Regions from separate parts of the Homo sapiens genome. Here region 2 is linked to region 1. Evidence: promoter capture Hi-C in human tissues and cell types (Jung and others, 2019). All regions are on one chromosome and are shown on one strand. The core of a region is centred on a gene start or on the middle of the fragment in contact, and the rest is flanking DNA. Distances in the headings are between cores, read along the strand shown. Region 1 holds the start of SPOCK2 (SPARC (osteonectin), cwcv and kazal like domains proteoglycan 2). Region 2 overlaps PSAP (prosaposin).

Region 1 (4,978 bases), core at 2,117-4,616:
ACAGATCTACATCATTATTTGTAATGTCTGCACAATAGTCTGTTACAGGTATGTTTTATCCTTTAATTAGGTGGTTCCTGGCTAATGGACATTGAATTGGTTTCCAGGATGGGCTATTATGAACAATTCTGGATCTTTGTGTGTTTATCTTTTTGTGCTTGTGGGGTCATCTAGAAATGGAATTAAATGGATTTTAAGATACATTCAGGCCAGGCACGGTGGCTCATGCTGGTAATTCCAGCACTTTGGGAGGCCAATGCGGATGGATCACATGAGATCAGTTTGAGACCAGCCAGACCAACATGGAGAAACCCCATCTCTACTAAAAATACAAAATTAGCCGGGTGTGTTGGTGCGTTCCTGTAATCCCAGCTACTCGGGAGGCTGAGGCAGGAGATTTGCTTTTGAACCTGGGAGGCAGAGGTTGCAGTAAGCTGAGATCGCGCCATTGCACTCCAGCCTGGGCAAGAGCGAAACTCGATGTATTCAATTTGGGTTTCTTATGAGGAAACTAAGGTTTCTCTTCTCCATTTTAGAATTGCTAAATATTAAGTGCAAACAGAAAAATGTGTAAAATATATGTACCACTTAATACATATACCTAGCAGCAGCTCCTCATGTTTGGGGCTATTGTCTTGAAAAGGCTAACCTGCCAGTAATTCTTTCAAACATGAGGAAAACCAAGCTGGGTGTGGTGGCTTATGCTTGTAATCCCAGCACTTTGGGAGGCTGAGGAGGGAGGATCACCTGAAGCCAGGAGTTCAAGACCAGCTTGGCCAACATGGTGAAACCCCATTTCTACTAAAAATACAAAAATTAGCTGAGCATGGGGACGGGCACCTGTAATCCCAGGTACTCGGGAGGCTGAGGCAGGAGAATCCCTTAAACTTGGGAGGCGGAGGTTGCAATGAGCCGAGATCGCACCACTGCTCTCCAGCCTGGGCGACAGAGTGAGACTCCATCTCAAAAAAAAAAAAAAAAAAAATTGAAAAACCTTTTCTTTTTCTTCTTTTCTGTTTTCTTTTGAGAAAGAGTCTCGCTCTGTTTCTCCAGCTGGAGTGCAGTGGCACGATGCTAGCCCAGTGTAGCCTTAATTCCGAGGCTCAAGCAGTCCTCTCACCTCAGCCTCCGAGTAGCTGGGACCACAGGCATGTGCAACGTGGCTCATTTTTTAAATTTTGTATAGAGATAGGGTCTCGCTATGTTGCCCACGATGGTCTGGAACTCCTAGGCTCAAGCCATCCTCCTGCCTCTTGGCCTCCTAAAGTGCTGGGATTACAGGTGTGAGTCAGCACACCTGGCCCTTTTTTTCTTCTTTGTAAACTAAAACTATTGGCCATTTCCTACAAGTTTTACACCAGTCATCTGGAAATTTGGGTTCTTCTTCCTAAATAGCATTACTATTGGCTTCACTAATGGGACTGGAATGTTGTTGATTAGCTTTCGACACAGGACTAGTATTGACCCAGCTTGAAGGTGCTACAGAAGGCAAGTCCCACTGGAGAAGCTACCTGGGACTGTGGGAGCCATTTTGACCCTCAGAGTCTGGAGACAGCTATTGTCATATTGATGGGCATCTTGACAGCACCTTTCCAAACTCTTTATTCAGCAACTTTGGTAACTCTGGAAGCCCCTAAGATAGCACAGGAATGGGAGAGCTGTGGTATCTGGTACCTATCTCCTAAGTGCCTTAGAGATATATAGCTAGCTTTGCTAAAAACGAAAACAGAAACAAAAAAAAAAAAAACAACAAAAAACTAGGATTGTAGGATTGAGATGGTGGAAAAGATGGCAAATTTTGATGAATCTTCAGAACTATGGGACACCGTAGCCTTCTCTTCCCAACCAGAGGAAAGACTAACTTTTTAAAAAAATGCCCATTATGCCCACTTAGTATGTAATTTTGCTTGCACTTTACAGCAGTTTTAATGATGGTATTACCATTAGTTTTAGATAGAAAATAGGTAATTGCTCAAGAATCCAGCCAGTAAGTGGGATTCTGTCCTCTAGTCTCCACGACAGCAAGCCGTGCTCTCTCACTGTACAGCGCCAGGACACACCCAGGAAGAATGCTTTATTACTGTGAGATGAAGACGTCAATGGCCAGGGCCTCACTGCAGCACCACCACTAAATCCAACAGCAAAGGAAACAAGAAAACATGGAAAGGGAGCTATTGTTTTCTGTTTTCCCAACGAGACTCCGGCCTGAGCCACTGAGGCATTCAGAGTTCCCAGATAGGCCAGATTCAGGGTGACAAGGAACCTTGTAAGCTATGTTTTTTCCTACTGATTAAGATTATGTTTTTTAAAGCATTTTAAATTTTTATTTTATTTTTAGATCACAGCAGCTAAGTCTTTTTATAAAAACACAATCTAGGGCTTGGGTCCCAAAAGTTCACTAGGTTTTGTCCCATCAGATGATGTTTCCTCTTTAATGTATTTGTAATGTAAACCTGTCCCCATTTCTGCTGTGCTCTTGGGACTGTGGCCAGCCTCCAGCCTTCCCCGCTGGTATGTCAACATTTAAATCTACAGCCAATAAGGAGGGTCGCAGTTTCAACAAAACCCGAAACACCTCAAACAAAACCAGCACCCCACCCCAGCCCCCCACTCCCCGGCTTCCCCAGTGGCTTATTCAAACTAACTTGAAGTCAAAAAACCATAAGCAAATATGCCTTTTCCAAATTTGCAGCCTCCAAGGCAGATGAAATGGTCAGACATTTGCCTTTTAGGGTTGTCCTGGGAAGAGCTGACAAAACGGGTGACAGCCCCTAAACAGCTGCCTGGGGAGGAGGACATCTGCCTCTGTTTCACCAGCCACTCAGTGCTCAGGCCTTGCCTTGCGCAACGCGGTGCCGCTGGGGAGCAATGGTTCTGAGCAGCCAGTTGTTATACGGCTTTTGTCTTAACGAAGCCACCCATTACGGTAGAGCCATAACTCGCAGGAAGCCAGCTGTCAGGGCTGTGGCGCAGGCCCCTCTGGGTGGGAGGCAAGGGGAGAAAAACAGTGTCTGGCCAAATTCCCTTTCCGACACCTGAGCCTGGCTGGCTTTGTAACCGGAGAGTTTTGTGCCCTCTCCCCCATCCCATCTTCCCCGGGGAGATCCTGGGGCCCTTCTTGCTCTCCATCCTTTGAGGGAGCTCAGGGACATTTCGGGATTCTGGATTTCTTGGTCTGCAACTCCCTGTGTGCCAGGCGGGGCTGGGCCCCGCTGCGGCTGGCTGGCGTTTGGCGCTCTCATCGAGGGAGCGCTTCGCTTTGAAATCTACCCACTCCTTTTTTTTTTTTTTTTTTAAACCAGGTATGATGATGTCAAACGTGATGCTGATGCTACAGTTACAGCCCCTGCTGGCGCAGCCTCTCTGATTCTCTCTCCCTCTCCGCGTCCAGTGCTGGGCTTTTTCAGACAAGTGCATCTCCTAACCAGGTCACATTTCAGCCGCGACCCACTCTCCGCCAGTCACCGGAGGCAGACCGCGGGAGGAGAGCTGAGGACAGCCGCGTGCGCTTCGCCAGCAGCGGGGTGGGAGGAAGGACATTAAAATACTGCAGAAGTCAAGACCCCCCCAGGTCGAACCCAGACCACGATGCGCGCCCCGGGCTGCGGGCGGCTGGTGCTGCCGCTGCTGCTCCTGGCCGCGGCAGCCCTGGCCGAAGGCGACGCCAAGGGGCTCAAGGAGGGCGAGACCCCCGGCAATTTCATGGAGGACGAGCAATGGCTGTCGTCCATCTCGCAGTACAGCGGCAAGATCAAGCACTGGAACCGCTTCCGAGACGTGAGTCCGCAGGGCTGCCAAGGCAGAGACCCGGGGTTGCGGGTTCGGGGATTGAGCTCCGGGGTCTGCGGGAGCGGCCGCCGCACGTCGCAGCCCGAGGCTCCGCAGCCTGGCCGGCTAATTACACGGAAAGTAAACAGTACTGGGGGTCACAGCCCAGCGCCCCTCCCCTGTCCCTGCGGCCCGGGCCGGCGGCCCTGGGACCCCCCAGCCCCGGGACCCCCAGCTCCACACCTGCCCGACGCTCCGGGGTCGCGCGCTCCGGGGTCTCCCCTGCGGGCCGGGAGTGGGAAGGGGTGCGGGGCCGGGGGGACCCGGACCCCGGCTGCCGCTGGACCCCGACCCGGTCCCCAGCTGCGTTGTGCGAGCCGCCCCCGGGCCTGCCCCAGCCGCTGGGATGCTGCAGGCTGCACATACGGGGCACTGCAGCACCGGCAGGTCTGGGTGGGGCCGGCAGTGAGGGTGGCATCGGCTCGCGCGGTGCCCTCTGTTCCCACCGTGGGCTTTGCGGGAGGGGGACAGCATGGGACGGGAGTGTGACCGGGGCTCTGGGTCTGGGGTCCCAGCAGCCTTCTAGGCGAGATGGTGGAAGGCGTGTCCGTACGGGGGTGGGCTGGGGTCCCCGTGCAGAAGGGCGCGCGAGGACCCAGGCTGGTTTTCCCGGACCAACATTTCAGGGGGGAATCCAGCCTGGAGCGAGGGGAGCAGCTCGGAGCCAGAGGAAGGCTCCCGGCCCGGTGGGCTTGAGAAGCCGGGGAGAGTCCAGAAGCTGGGTTTGGGGGCCCCCGGCGGGCGCCGCCCGAACCCCGGCGTAACCTTGGGCCGAACTCCGCGGGGTGGGGGCGGGGGGGTAGCTGCGGCACTTTTGTTTACCGGCACCTGTGGATCAGAGGGGAAGTCGCAGGCGGCGGCCCGGCGGGGCTGGCTCCTTCCTCTCGGCCGGGCCGGGTTGGGGGCTGGGGAAGCAGGGGTGAGGCAGGGCGGGCGGAGGGTGTGGCTGGACCCCGAGATCGTTGGGGGTGCTGTGGGGGATGGGCCCGGATGCGCCAGAGGCGACGCCGGCTGCTCCTGGCGACCTGGTGCTCACCGCGGCCCTGACCCCAGAAAACCTCTTCTAGGACCCTGGCCCTTACTCCTCCTTCCCCAGGTTCCCTCGTCCGACCCACCCAGTACAACGCAGGCCACACCATGACCTCTCCCG
Region 2 (4,827 bases), core at 2,328-4,827, 260 kb after region 1:
ATATTTAAAATATGCAAAGATTAATCCCCTTTAAAAAAATTTACTTCTTTTATTTTTGAGACAGGGTCTCGTTCTGTCACCCAAGCTGGAGTGCAGTGGTGTGATCATGGTTCACTGCAGCCTCAACCTCTGAGGCTTAAGTGATCCTCCCACCTTAGCCTCCTAAGTAGCTGGGAGTACAAATGCACACCACCACACCTGGCTAATTTTTGTATTTTTTGTTTTGCCATGTTGCTCAGACTGGTCTCAAACTCCTGGGTTCAAGCGATCTGCCTGCCTCGGCTTCCCAAAGTGCTGGGATTACAGGTGTGAGCCACTGTGCCTGGCCAACCTTTTTATTTATACTAAACCCCCTTTTTATACCATACTGTTACTATAATGAACACTTAATCGATTTTAAGCCTATCAGTAATTTGAGAGCCTGTAAAGCATCTTAGGAACTGGTCAGCAAGTGCCCCCTAATGCTGCAGCCCTGAGTATATAAGGACGTTTTCCTAGGAATTTGAGTCCTCTTAAGTTGCAAACCTAACTGCCTCTTCTGTAGGATAATGGGGACGTTTGCCAGGACTGCATTCAGATGGTGACTGACATCCAGACTGCTGTACGGACCAACTCCACCTTTGTCCAGGCCTTGGTGGAACATGTCAAGGAGGAGTGTGACCGCCTGGGCCCTGGCATGGCCGACATAGTGAGCCTTGTGTCCTTGTGCATTGGGGATGTTCTGGGCCTGGGAGTTGGGCTGTGGAGGCTGGAGTAGGGCGTTCAGACAACATCCTTCTCTTTTTTCCCAGAAAGCAGCTTGAATAGGTAGTGCAGACTTGAATCTATTTTGGTTAATGGCATCTGGATATGTAACAAAACTGGGAACAAAAAGTAGGAGACTGTTTCTGGGAAGATTTTGTTTCCTGCCAGGCACCCTGTGTATTAGGAACACTGTAGAAATACTTTTTGCCCCCATTTTTTTTTTTTTTTTTTGAGACTGAGTGTTGCTCTGTTGCCCAGGCTGGAGTGCAGTGGCGTGATCTCAGCTCACTGCAACCTCTACCTCATGGGTTCCAGGGATTCTCCTGCCTTAGCCTCCCGAGTAGCTGGGATTACAGGTGTGTGCAATCACGCCCAGCTAATTTTTGTATTTTTAGTAGAGATGGGGTTTCACCGTGTTTGTCAGGCTGGTCTCAAACTCCTGATCTCAAGTGATCTGCCCGCTTCAGCCTCCCAAAGTGCTAGGATTACAGGCGTGAGTCTCTGCGCCCGGCCTTTACCCCATTTTTTTCTTTTCTTTTCTTTTTTTTTTTTCTTTTTTGAGACGGAGTCTCGCTCTGTCGCCCAGGCTGAAATGCAGTGGCGCGATCTCGGCTCACTGCAAGCTCCGCCTCCCGGGTTCACGCCATTCTCCTGCCTCAGCCTCCTGAGTAGCTGGGACTACAAGTGCCCGCCACCATGCCCGGCTAATTATTTTTGTATTTTTTAGTGGAGACGGGGTTTCACTGTGTTAGCCAGGATGGTCTCGATCTCCTGACCTCATGATCCGCCTGCCTCGGCCTCCCAAAGTGCTGGGATTACAGGCGTGAGCCACCGCGCCCGGCCATTTACCCCATTTTTGAAAGCTTGGCTAATGTATGTGACACTGAGAATTCCAGCTGTGCTCCTGCAGCAAGCATGGTCGCTGACCATGGTTCACCTGGAAGCCTCCCTTAGTCCTGTGGGCTCAGAAACTCATTTTCTTGGCCCCTTACTTAGATCGTTTCATTCTGGGACCCTATTCCAAGATTATTAATCACACTCAGGTGGATGTGTAAAACCAAAATGCCATTTTTAGTACCTGACAACTGAAGAAACCTGCTAGACTGGCAGCTGAGAAGCTGGTTGTAATTACTCTGTCCTTTGGGATCTAGCGAGGCTTTTTGGGTGGAGTGGCCGGCTCTAGGAGATGAGGCCTTCTCCATTTTTTTTTTTTTCTTGAGACAGGGTTTAGCTCTGTCACCCAGGCTGGAGTGCGGTGGCACAATCATAGCTCACTGCAGCCTTTACCTCCTGGGCTCAAACAATCCTCTTCTCAGCCTCCCAAGTAGCTGGGATTACAGGAGTGAGCCACCACGCCCAGCTGAGGGTTTCTCTCTGACTTTCCGTTAGGAATGTTAATCAGGTGAACATTCATTCATTTTGAAAGCCTAGGAATCCTGTAGCCTCATTTTAAGTGTCTTTGCATAACACCATTTAAACAGGTTTCCCAGTTGAACCCTCTCTGAGAGGCTGTATCATGTTACCTTTGGTCCTCTCTCTGTAGAAGCTCCCCAAATACAAGGAGCAATTCTGTGGAGTCTACTGGAAGTATCTAGATTGTCTGAAAATAAGCAGTTAAAAATCATTATAACTTGACTCTACTGGATTTAAGCTTTATAATGCCATCTGAGATTGTGTAAATGGCTTTGAAAGGTAAGCTCCAGTTCCTAAGCAGTGTATCTCCTAGCTGCCTTCTCTCCAAATTGCCACTGAATAGTTGCTGTGTGATCCTGGGGCACGTGAGGTTATAAGATAAAGGAGACAGGAGGGTGGAATCTTTAAGGTCCCTTAAGAAACATTTTCAAAACGTCTTTTGCACACATTTCCTATAAATGATAGAGTAACCAAATTGTCATTTTCATCTTATTAAAGCTGGCCCAGAGCAGACATTCATAAAATTCTACTTTAGAAACTTGCTTGATAGTCACCAGTTGACACTGTTGGAAATGCTGGGGGGTTTTTGTTGGTTGGGTTTTGGTGCATTGTTGCAGTGATTTGTTTAGCAATCTGTTTCTCTCTCCTCAGTGCAAGAACTATATCAGCCAGTATTCTGAAATTGCTATCCAGATGATGATGCACATGGTAGGTGGCACGGAGGCCCCTTGTTAGCATTTTTCTTTGTTTTTCAGGTTTCGTCATTTCTAGGAATTTTGAAAATTATATGGTTTAGTTTCCCTTTTTTACCTTAGAGTGCTGAATTGGGCTAAATCGACCCCTCTGGCTAGGAGACTCTCCACTTGCAATCTCAGTACCTCCCCTGTTACGGGAGAGGCAGGCTGAAGCATCTTGATCCCAGGACTGCCCTGGTGGCTTCCTGGCAATTTGTTTGCCTCTGCCCGTTCAGGCCAGCCATCAGGTTTCTAGGTCTGGCTTTAACCCTGGGATCTGTAGAAGTCAAGTGCTCTCTAACTAAGCCAGGCCTGAGAATGGCTGTGTTGCCACCTGAGTCGGGGGAATACTGCCTCCCGGAGTTTGTCCCGTGCATGGCAGCAGCGTCCGCTGAAGCTGCTGCTTGAGCTGGTAACTCCTGAGCTGGCTTTGGATGCATTCAGGTGGCAGGGGGCATTCCTTCATTAGAATCAAGAATACCCATTCAGGAAATGAGCTCGCTAGTCCACGCAGAGCAGGGCGGCCTGCTCACGTTGGGAACGGGCACTGCCTCCTTAGATCTGATTGGCAGGGCTGAGTGGGTGGGGGGCACCTTTTCCCTGTCTGTCATGCTTTCTGACTACTTGAGATTGACATACCAGCGTTTGAGTTTGTTCTCTGATCCAGGGGTCAGCAAACTGGCCCATCATGTTTTGTACTTAAAGGGTATTTTTTTGGAACACAGCGACGCCTGTTTTGTGCTACAGCAGCACAGTTGAGTAGTTGCAGCCAGATCTTATGGCCAAGGAGCCTGAAAGATTGACTCTCTGACCTGCTGTAACCACTCAAGCAAGCTGAGGAGGAGTAGTTTATTTGGGATTATTACTCACACCCTACCATGTTCTAAAAACAGTTAAAAGGCAGCTTACAGAGACATGCACCTGAAGTAGGTAAAGATAAGCATTGACGGGATTTAATCTCGTGAAGTACTTCCTCATAGCTAACTTAAAATATTTTTCTCATTATAAAAGTTATACTGTGTAGAAATGTGTTGAAAATATGGACAATACTTCCCACACAAAAATCATTTGGAGTTTCAGAATATATCAACGGGTTCATATATACTACCTTGTACTTTGTAGTTTGCATTTTTTGCCTAAAAATATGTTGGCCATTGAATATTCTTGTACAAATGACTAAATGCTTGCAGAATAATCACCTGTGTACATAGAAGAGAATTTACATAATTGGTCCCCGGTGGCCGGATGTATCTAGGTTGTTTTCAGGTTTGCCTTTGGGAAGATGAATATCCTTATAGCCAAATGCATACATATATGCATATCCCTGCCTTTCCCCTTATTATAGAGAACTAAAGCTGGAACTGCTGAATGGAAGCATGAGGCTTTGGATACATTGTTAAATTGGCCTTCCAGGCTGCCATTTGGCCACCTGCAGTAGATTGCCCTAGGATCCCTTACCCCTCAGGGATCCCTTACCCCCCTTACTTGGGCAGCCCTGTGTCTTGTTCTGTGGTGCTGCTGGTCACTAACCTGTGGGAAAGCCTTGTGGGCCCGGGGCCAGTGTGGGCTCCTGAGTATGGAGACCCTTCATCAAGCATTTTCTGGGGCTCTTGCTACACAGTGTTTTGAGTGTGATTTAGTGTGTAAGACCTGGAGATGGTGCACACAGAGCAGGACAGCCCCCAAATGGTCTATCCCTGCAGGGCCAGGAAAGCTTTCAGGGCCCCCTTGTCCGCAAGATAGCAGGAACAAGGTAGGTTGCTAAGATCTGATTGCAAGAGCATTTCCCCTGAACCTCTTGGGACATCCTTACACCTGGTTAACTGCTTGATTGTTGTTTTAATTTTTCTTAACTGTTGTGTCCTTTCCTTTCTCTTATTTTCACCTCCGATTTCCTGTTTTTTTGTTCAACAGCAGGATCAGGTATGTGTCGGGG

What was found. The method cuts DNA at HindIII sites, captures the fragments that hold promoters and counts their contacts. A contact is called where the count stands out against the background at its distance.
Region 2: a fragment that was not itself captured here is called in contact with the fragment with the promoter of SPOCK2 in region 1 in 1 of the 25 tissues and cell types used here (dorsolateral prefrontal cortex).

What each region holds. Positions count from the first base shown.
Region 1 is chr10:72,086,939-72,091,916 of GRCh38, reverse strand. It overlaps SPOCK2 (SPARC (osteonectin), cwcv and kazal like domains proteoglycan 2), which reads left to right and starts at 3,366. Exons shown (of 11, transcript NM_001244950.2): 1 at 3,366-3,777. The coding sequence starts at 3,589. The HindIII fragment of the contact is 11,919 bases long and covers 1-4,978 here.
Region 2 is chr10:71,823,875-71,828,701 of GRCh38, reverse strand. It overlaps PSAP (prosaposin), which reads left to right. Exons shown (of 14, transcript NM_002778.4): 6 at 545-688; 7 at 2,809-2,865. Among named protein-coding and RNA genes, the nearest start is that of PSAP, 25 kb to the left of the region's middle. The HindIII fragment of the contact is 3,151 bases long and covers 2,002-4,827 here.